Linked DNA regions of Homo sapiens: region 1 is linked to region 2. The links are contacts of gene promoters, found by promoter capture Hi-C in blood cells and fetal thymus (Javierre and others, 2016). All regions are on one chromosome and are shown on one strand. The core of a region is centred on a gene start or on the middle of the fragment in contact, and the rest is flanking DNA. Distances in the headings are between cores, read along the strand shown. Region 1 holds the start of TMEM184A (transmembrane protein 184A). Region 2 holds the start of EIF3B (eukaryotic translation initiation factor 3 subunit B).

What was found. Contacts are between HindIII fragments. The CHiCAGO score rates a contact against its expected background, and 5 or more counts as called.
Region 1: the fragment with the promoter of TMEM184A here is called in contact with the fragment with the promoter of EIF3B in region 2 in 3 of 17 cell types (non-activated CD4 T cells, naive CD4 T cells and naive CD8 T cells); the score reaches 7.5 in non-activated CD4 T cells.

Annotation. Positions count from the first base shown.
Region 1 is chr7:1,554,678-1,558,911 of GRCh38, forward strand. It overlaps TMEM184A (transmembrane protein 184A), which reads right to left and starts at 1,528. Exons shown (of 9, transcript NM_001097620.2): 1 at 1,437-1,528; 2 at 589-807. The coding sequence starts at 807. RefSeq lists silencers at 54-236, 1,604-1,673, 1,714-1,803 and enhancers at 346-1,146, 716-1,010, 1,147-1,946. The HindIII fragment of the contact is 30,451 bases long and covers 1-4,234 here.
Region 2 is chr7:2,353,092-2,356,792 of GRCh38, forward strand. EIF3B (eukaryotic translation initiation factor 3 subunit B) reads left to right here and starts at 1,736. Exons shown (of 19, transcript NM_001037283.2): 1 at 1,736-2,329. The coding sequence starts at 1,831. It also overlaps a transcript of SNX8 not described here. RefSeq lists enhancers at 527-1,082, 753-822 and silencers at 1,623-1,762, 1,943-2,032, 2,083-2,192. The HindIII fragment of the contact is 9,918 bases long and covers 1-3,701 here.

The DNA.
Region 1 (4,234 bases), core at 278-2,777, 800 kb before region 2:
TTCTCTACCTGGGGGCTGTTCTGTTCCCACCTGGGGACTGCTCCGGGTCGGGGGCTGTGTGTGGCTTCGGGCTTGGGGAAGTTGCTTCTCGCCCATCTCCTGCACAGGAGTCCCGGTCCCTCTAACAAGCTGTGACCTTTGCTCCCCAGCTCCCTACAGAGCAAAGTCCAACCCCCTGCCAACCTCCCACCAGCCTTCTCCAGGGTGTCACGCCTCTGGAAGGAGAAGGCCCCTTCCCCTTTCCAGCTATGTGAGCCTGGGAAAGACCTCTGGTCTCTCTGAGACTCAGTCTTCTTGTCTGTGAAATGGGACCACACTGCAGACCTCAGTGAGCCGAGTGACGAGCCTGTGAAATAGCCAGGGGTGCCCGGTGGGCGCTCTGCCCTCAGCCTGGCAGAGATCTCCCCATTTTCAGGCCCAGCTCCCACATGCCACATCCTGGGGAAGCTCATCCCCTCCCCCGTGCCCTGGCCGATCCCACTTCTGACAGCGTCTATAGCAGCGGCACCCAGGGGGACCGGGCTGAGCCACGGCCACGTCCTGTGGAGACCAAGGTCCTGAAGGAGGCTCGGGGGCGGAAGGGCTTACCTGGTGGCAGGTGAGCACCAGGGCAGTCCACACGAAGATCCCCGAGACGCCTCGGGCCAGTGCGGAGGTGAGGAAGAGCCAGGGGGCCCCCTGGGAGCTGTTCCCCATGTGGTCCATCTGCGGCCCAGCTGGCACAGCCGGTGGGGGGCTGGGCTGCGGCCAGTTCGCTGACACCAGGGGGACGCCGGCTGTCTCCAGGATCCCTGAGACATTACTCATCTGCAGAGGGAGGGAGGACACACACCGGGAGGAGTGAGGGCAAAGGTACTGGCTCCCGGCAGCAGGAAGCAGCGGGGGAGGGAGGAGACAGTGAGACGGGAGCTGAGGCTGAGCCACCCACCAGGCCGCACCCCCCACACGGACACCAGCGCCAGGCCCGGCTCCCTCCCTGCTCCGAGCTCAGCCATCGAAGCTCACCCATCAACCACCTGCGACCTGAGGGTCCCACCTCAATTCCCCCTTGTAAAACCAGCTTCCAACTCCGAGTCTCAGGCTTGCAGGGAGCCTGCTTCTTAGGGGACAAAGACCGTCTTCCAGTGGGGCAGAAGAGGGGGAACCCCTGCCGCCCTGCCTGCCCGGGAGGGCTGGGGAGCGGGCGCAGACCAGCACTGCCTGCCCCGGCAGGAGGGGGTGTGCAGCCACCCTCATGGGAGGAGCCGGCCCTCACTGGCTCTGGGACCTGTCCACCCACCTGGGAGCCCGGCTTTGCTGGGGTTCTTGGCAGCCCTGGGTGCCTGTTCCATCTCCCACTAACCTGCTGGGGCCCTGAGTCCACCCTCTCCCACACTCGCAGCCCAGTCCAGCCTCCTCCTCTCCCTCTGGTCTGCGGTCACAGGGCCCAGCTCTACCTTTGCTGGCAGGAAGCACCTGGCCCAGTCCAGGGAGGCCTGGCCTCCAGGGAAGCCTAGCTGGTCATTCTCATGGCCACGTGGCCCCAACTGGAGGCCCCACTGTGGGTGCGGCAAGGCCAGGATCTGAAGGGCTGTGCCAGGCTGGGGCGGGGCGGCCAGTGCCTCACGTCCCCAGTGGCCCACCTGGGCCCCAGGCTGCAGGCCCGTCCCCTCCTGTCCCCTCCCACGGCTGACACCCTATCCTCCCGGTTGTTTGCTGGGTGGCAGCTGGCTCCCAGGAACCTGCTGGCCGCCTGGCGCCCTCACCTGCCTATGCCAGACGGCCAGGCAGCTGCCACCTGGTGGGGACACGTGGGAGAGGTCTGCGGCAGGCCAAGGAGGGCCGGGCTGCAGGAGGAGGGGTGGAGAGCTAATGGTACAGGGTTTCTCTGGGGGGTGACAGGAGTCCTGAAATGAGGTAGAGGCGGCAGGCACACAGCACTGTGGATATACTTACCGCCACCGAATCGTTCACTTAAACCTGGGTAAATTGATGTTATGTGAATTTCATCTGAATTAAAAAAAAAATCCACGCCCCAAGAGATGAGTTGAAAACATTTGTTTTCTGGGCCGGGCGTGGTGGCTCACGCCTGTCATCCCCACACTTTGGGAGGCCAAGGTGGGTGGATCACTTGAGGTCAGGAGTTCGAGACCAGCCTGGCCAACATGGTGAAACGCCGTCTCTACGAAATACGCAAAAATTAGCTAGGTGTGGCAGCGTGCACCTGTAATTCCAGATACTCAAGAGGCTGAGACAGGAGAATCGCTTGAACTCAGAAGGCGGAGGTTGCAGTAAGCTGAGATCACACCACTGCACTCCAGCCTGGGGACAGAGGGAGACTCTGTGTCCAAAAAAAAAAAAAAAAAAAAAAGGAAATATTTCTGGTTTTTGTGGATCAAGGCAGGAGAGGGGGAGTGACAGCCCAGTCCCTGGACCCTTTGGGGTCTGGCAAGGGGTTGCGGGGCCCTGAGGGTCCCTGTCACCCCCATGCAGAGGCCCCTGTGGAGAAAAAACTCACTCACCCCGGCTCCTGGGAGAGGGATGTGGGCCCTCAGCCCACCTCTTGTCCTGTTCTGGTTACGCTTGGGCTCATGCCGCTGGGGCCACCATTACCAAGTCCCGCTCCATGCCCGCAACGGATCCACACACTCCTTGTCCTTCATATCTCCTACCCTCCCACAGCCCTGAGCAACAGGGCTCAAGGGGTTGAGGCTGGAATGACTGGAGCCACTGTTCCCCTTTTATTTTTAATTAATTTATTTTTTGAGACGGAGCCTCGCTCTGTCGCCAGGCTGGAGTACAATGGCGCGATCTCGGCTCACTGCAACCTCCGCCTCCTGGGTTCAAGTGATTCTCCTGCCTCAGCCTCCCGAGTAGCTGGGATTACAGGCGCCCACCACCACACCTAGCTAATTTTTGTATTTTTAGTAAAGACGGGGTTTCACCACGTTGGCCAGGCTGGGCTTGAACTCCTGACCTCAGGTGATCTGCCCGCCTCAGCCTCCCAAAGTGCTGGGATTACAGGTTTGAGCCACCACGTCCGGCCTGTTCCCCTTTTAGAGATGGGAACGAGAGGCGCATCAACGCGTCCAGCATCCTTGAGGGGTCCGTGAGGGGCCCGGGCTGAGGCCCATCCTTCCCTGGGACACCCTGCCTGCTTTTCCCAACTCCTCCACTGACACTGTCCCTCCAGGGAGGCTCCCAGGTGGGGAACAAGCTCAGGAAGTCGTGCCCAGCTCTCAGGCCCGCCTTGCCTAACCTCCCCATCAGCGCCCACCCGGGCCCGGGCCCAGAGCCACAGCATGCACACCCTGGCTGGGCCCTCCTGGAGCCTGCCTGCTCCCCAGGCAGGGACCTTCTGGACCAACCGACCCTGCTCCCGGGTGACTCTGTCCTGCAGCCTCAGGCGTCACCTCTGGAGAGACCATCCCCGCTGTCCCATCACCCTCCTCACTGTGTGTGTGACTCCCTGTCCACCTGTCTGTGTTTGCTGCTGGTCCTCCCTCTGCAGGAGCTGCCAGAGCCTAGAGCTGTGCCCTGTCCATGCTCGGGGCACAGGGCTTGCGGGGTGGGGGCTGTCCTGCTGAGGCGGTGACCCTGTGGGCTAAGGTCTCCCTTTGGCCAGGCAGGGGTGCTGGAAGGCGGTCCCCAACTTCCATCCAGCTGCATTCCCACTGCAGCCACAGGTACTCCTGCCGGCCTCCCACCCGGCCTGCAGAGCCCCAGGCAGTCGGCTCAGCGCGTGTGGATGTCGCCCTCTGGCTGTGTCGGGATCACCGTCACGGACAACTATGAAGTGACGATGGCTGGGGGCCCGTTTGAAGGGTGAAGACTTTGGTGCCTGGGCATGCGCAGAGCTGGAAGGGACCGGGAATCCCCTCATCCAACTCGCTCATGCTACAGGCAGGGAAACTGAGGCCCCAGCCCCTGCTTGATTTGCGTCCAGCCCCCAGCACAGGATGAAGCCTCGGGCCCCTCCCTGGGCTGACGGTGGGAATGGCTGTGCAGACAGCAGGAGGCACTGTGGCTAGATGTCAGCAGGACCGTTTTGGCTGGAGCCAGCAGAGCCAGGCTTCTGGGAGGGCTCTGGCTTCGGGCAGGCTCAGGGCTTGGGCCCCGGACACAGACTGAGGGACCTCCAAAGCTCTGTCTTCCGCCAGAGGCAGATCCTCTGTGGAAAAAGGTGGGGTTTTCTCACAGGGCCAGCTGGGCACTGGACAGGGAGGCCTGCTGATCTCCTCAGCCCACAGCTGTC
Region 2 (3,701 bases), core at 486-2,985:
GAGACCAGCCTGGGCAACACAGTGAGATGCTATCTACAAATAAAGAAATTAGCTGGGCACGGTGGCACATACCTTCAGTCCCAAGTACTTGGCAATGTACTTAATGTCACTGAACTGTACACTAAATTGCATATTAAAATGGCTAGGCCCTGCGCGGTGGTTCACGCTTGTAATCCTGGCACTTTGGGAGGCTGAGGTGGGAGGATTCTCTTGAGGCTGGAAGGTCCCGATTGCAGCGGCGCTGTGATTATGCCACCGCACTCTAGCCTGGGCAACAGAGCGAGACCCTATCTCTGAAAACAAACAAAACAAAAAAACTATAGGATGAAATATACATAAAATTTACCTTTTTGGCATTTTATTTTATTTTTTCGAAGACAGGGTCTCGCTATGTTGCCCTGACTGGTCTTGAACTCTTGGGCTCAAGTGATCCTCCTGTCTTGGCCTCCCAAAGTACTGGGAAGAGAGGTGTGAGCCACCGCGCAGGGCCTAGCCATTTTAATATGAAGTTTAGTATACAGTTCAGTGGCATCAAGTACATTCACCATGTTGTACCATCACCACCGTCATCTCCAAAACGTTCTCATCCTCCCAAATTGAAGGTCCGTCCCCGATAAACACTCCCCACTCTCCACCCCAGCCTCTGGGTACCACCTGTTTTATTTATTTATTTAATTTTCGTAGAGATGAGGGCTGGCGTGCGGGGGGTGGTGGTGCTATGTTGGCAAGGCTGGTCTCCAACTCCTAAGCTCAAGCGATCTTCCCACCTCAGCCTCCCAAAGTGCTGGGATAACAGGCGTGATCCACTGGGTTGTTTTCTAGGATGATTAAGACATCCCCCAACCAGTGGTTGTCCTCCACTCCGGCAAAAAACAAGATAGAAGCCACATGCACCCAATGCCCGTCCCGTGAGCACCCGCGCAGAGCGAACCGCTCCGGTCCCTCCGGAGTCAGCCTCGAGCTCCACGCGGCGAGGACCCGCCCCCGCCCCCACGTGACCCGCGCTGTCCCGCGCTGAAGGCGGCGGCCTCGGATGGACTGAACCACTGTGAAAGCCCGAATGGGGGGAAACAGGCAGTGACGGCCGCTAGGGAAGGACTGGGGGTAAGCGATTAAAGAAACTTCCATACATTTTTGTATCGCGCCAGGCAGTCGTCCTTCTAGTCGTGTGGGCCCTCTCTGGCTCGCCCCGAATTCCTTTTCTATTTTGAAGTAGTCTGTCCTTTTGCTCAGTCAGTAGGCGAGTCCAAGTGACAGACACGGACAGGGGGGACTTTAGTAACGTAAACTAAACGGTTTCCCTAGCGAAAGGCTCAGACGCCCTGAGCAATCGCCTGTTGAGTCTCCACTCTTCCAGGGTATTAACTGTTGAGTTAGAGGACATTTTCCTAGCATTCCGGGTACTAAAATCATTTCTTGTCCCCGCCTTCAGCTCCACAAATAGTTCAGTCCCGCCCCGCAGCGTCCGACGGGAAAGGAAAGGGGGAGGACGCCATGTTGGACGGAACCATCTGCTGCCACACATGGGGTGGTCAATGCTCCCATGAGTTTACTGATGCACAGAAACAACCTTGCTGAATGGAATTAAGCACTTTCTTGTCACAAATATATCAGTTTGATGATTTTCGGGCGCGGTCTTGTGGATGCGAGTCCTCTCAGGGTCGTTCGTGAGGCCCCAGGGCGTGGGTGCGCCCCCCGCCCCGCGGCCTTGGTGCGGCCTCCCCGTCGCACGCACATGGCTGGGCTGTAGCCGTCGCGGCGCGCGGTGCGGCCTGGGAGAGTCGGAAGCGCGGCGGCCGCGGAGCCCTGCGAGTAGGCAGCGTTGGGCCCATGCAGGACGCGGAGAACGTGGCGGTGCCCGAGGCGGCCGAGGAGCGCGCCGAGCCCGGCCAGCAGCAGCCGGCCGCCGAGCCGCCGCCAGCCGAGGGGCTGCTGCGGCCCGCGGGGCCCGGCGCTCCGGAGGCCGCGGGGACCGAGGCCTCCAGTGAGGAGGTGGGGATCGCGGAGGCCGGGCCGGAGTCCGAGGTGAGGACCGAGCCGGCGGCCGAGGCAGAGGCGGCCTCCGGCCCGTCCGAGTCGCCCTCGCCGCCGGCCGCCGAGGAGCTGCCCGGGTCGCATGCTGAGCCCCCTGTCCCGGCACAGGGCGAGGCCCCAGGAGAGCAGGCTCGGGACGAGCGCTCCGACAGCCGGGCCCAGGCGGTGTCCGAGGACGCGGGAGGAAACGAGGGCAGAGCGGCCGAGGCCGAACCCCGGGCGCTGGAGAACGGCGACGCGGACGAGCCCTCCTTCAGCGACCCCGAGGACTTCGTGGACGACGTGAGCGAGGAAGGTGAGGGCGCCCGGGGCGGGGCTGGCGAGCGGCGCGGGAGCGTGGCTGGGGTTCCCGAGGTGGGAGATATCGTCGGGCTGTGCCACCGGTTCGTGCAGAAGTTCCAGCGAGGGTGTCCGTGTGTTCCTGAGAAGCCACCGAGGGAGGGGTTCCCGAGTGCCCTGGAAGTGTTCTGAGAGCCCAGCGCCTCCCCTTTTCTTTCCTGAAAAAGGGGACAGGGTGGAGCTCACTTCGGGAGCCAGGCATTTGCATGACAACCAGAAATCTGAGAGGGTGGGAGAGGGCACATGGGGTACTCCGTTATGGCTGGGTGTGCTGTGAGTGTAGCAGCTGGGGGTACGGCAAAAACCGAAGACCCGGTGGCAGGTTTGCGGGTCTACGTGTCCCCAGAGCTGACCAGTCAGACCTCCCAAGGTCTGGATCGGAGGAACAGCTTGTGGCAGAGCCGGTGATTTTGTCCTCCTGCCCCTCAGAATTGTCCATCTCCAGAGACTTCCTTAGTGGGACAGGCACCCTGTGAAATTCCAGTTTGATTTTTCTTTATCTCTTGCGCTAAATCTATAAAGAGAGTTATTTTTCCAGGTTTTAATATTGCCGATAACAGCCAGCTTTGCCTTCATCTCAACCTTGATTGGATTTACAGGCATATTTTTGCTTCCTGTCTCAGAGATTTTTTCCTGAAGCTACTTCTGATGAGAGCTGGTCTCATTTGTTTTTCTTTTGTTTTTTAGCTCTCTTAAGCCTTTAAGTTGGGAACACATCAGCCTCTGCAGATTGGCTAAGTTGATACTAGAGTGAGAAAAATAAAAATACCCTTGCTGATGTAGCCAGCGATACACCAGGACAATTTCGGGAATAACATGGAGTTGCCAATTTATGATTTAAACGTATTTTTAAAAGGCTATCAGAGGGCCGGGCTGGGTGGCTCACGCCTGTAATCCCAGCACTTTGGGAGGCCGAGACGGGTGGATCACGAGGTCACCATCCTGGCTAACACGGTGAAACCCCGTCTCTACTAAAAATAAAAAAAAATTAGCCGGGCGTGGTGGCGGGCACCTGGATTTCCCAGCTACTCTGGAGGCTGAGGCAGGAGAATGGTGTGAACCTGGGAGGCGGAGCTTGCAGTGAGCCGAGATCCTGCCACTGCACTCCATCCTGGGCGACAGAGCAAGACTCCGTCTCAAAAAAAAAAAAAAAAGAAAAAGAAAAAAAGGTTATCAGAAATACAAGTCAGCCAGGTGTGCTGGTGCACACCTGTAGTCTCAGGTACTTGGGAGGCTGAGGCACGAGAATCACTTTAACCCAGGAGGTGGAGGTTGCAGTGAGCCTAGATCCCACCACTGCCTGGGCGACAGAGTGAGACCCTGTCTCA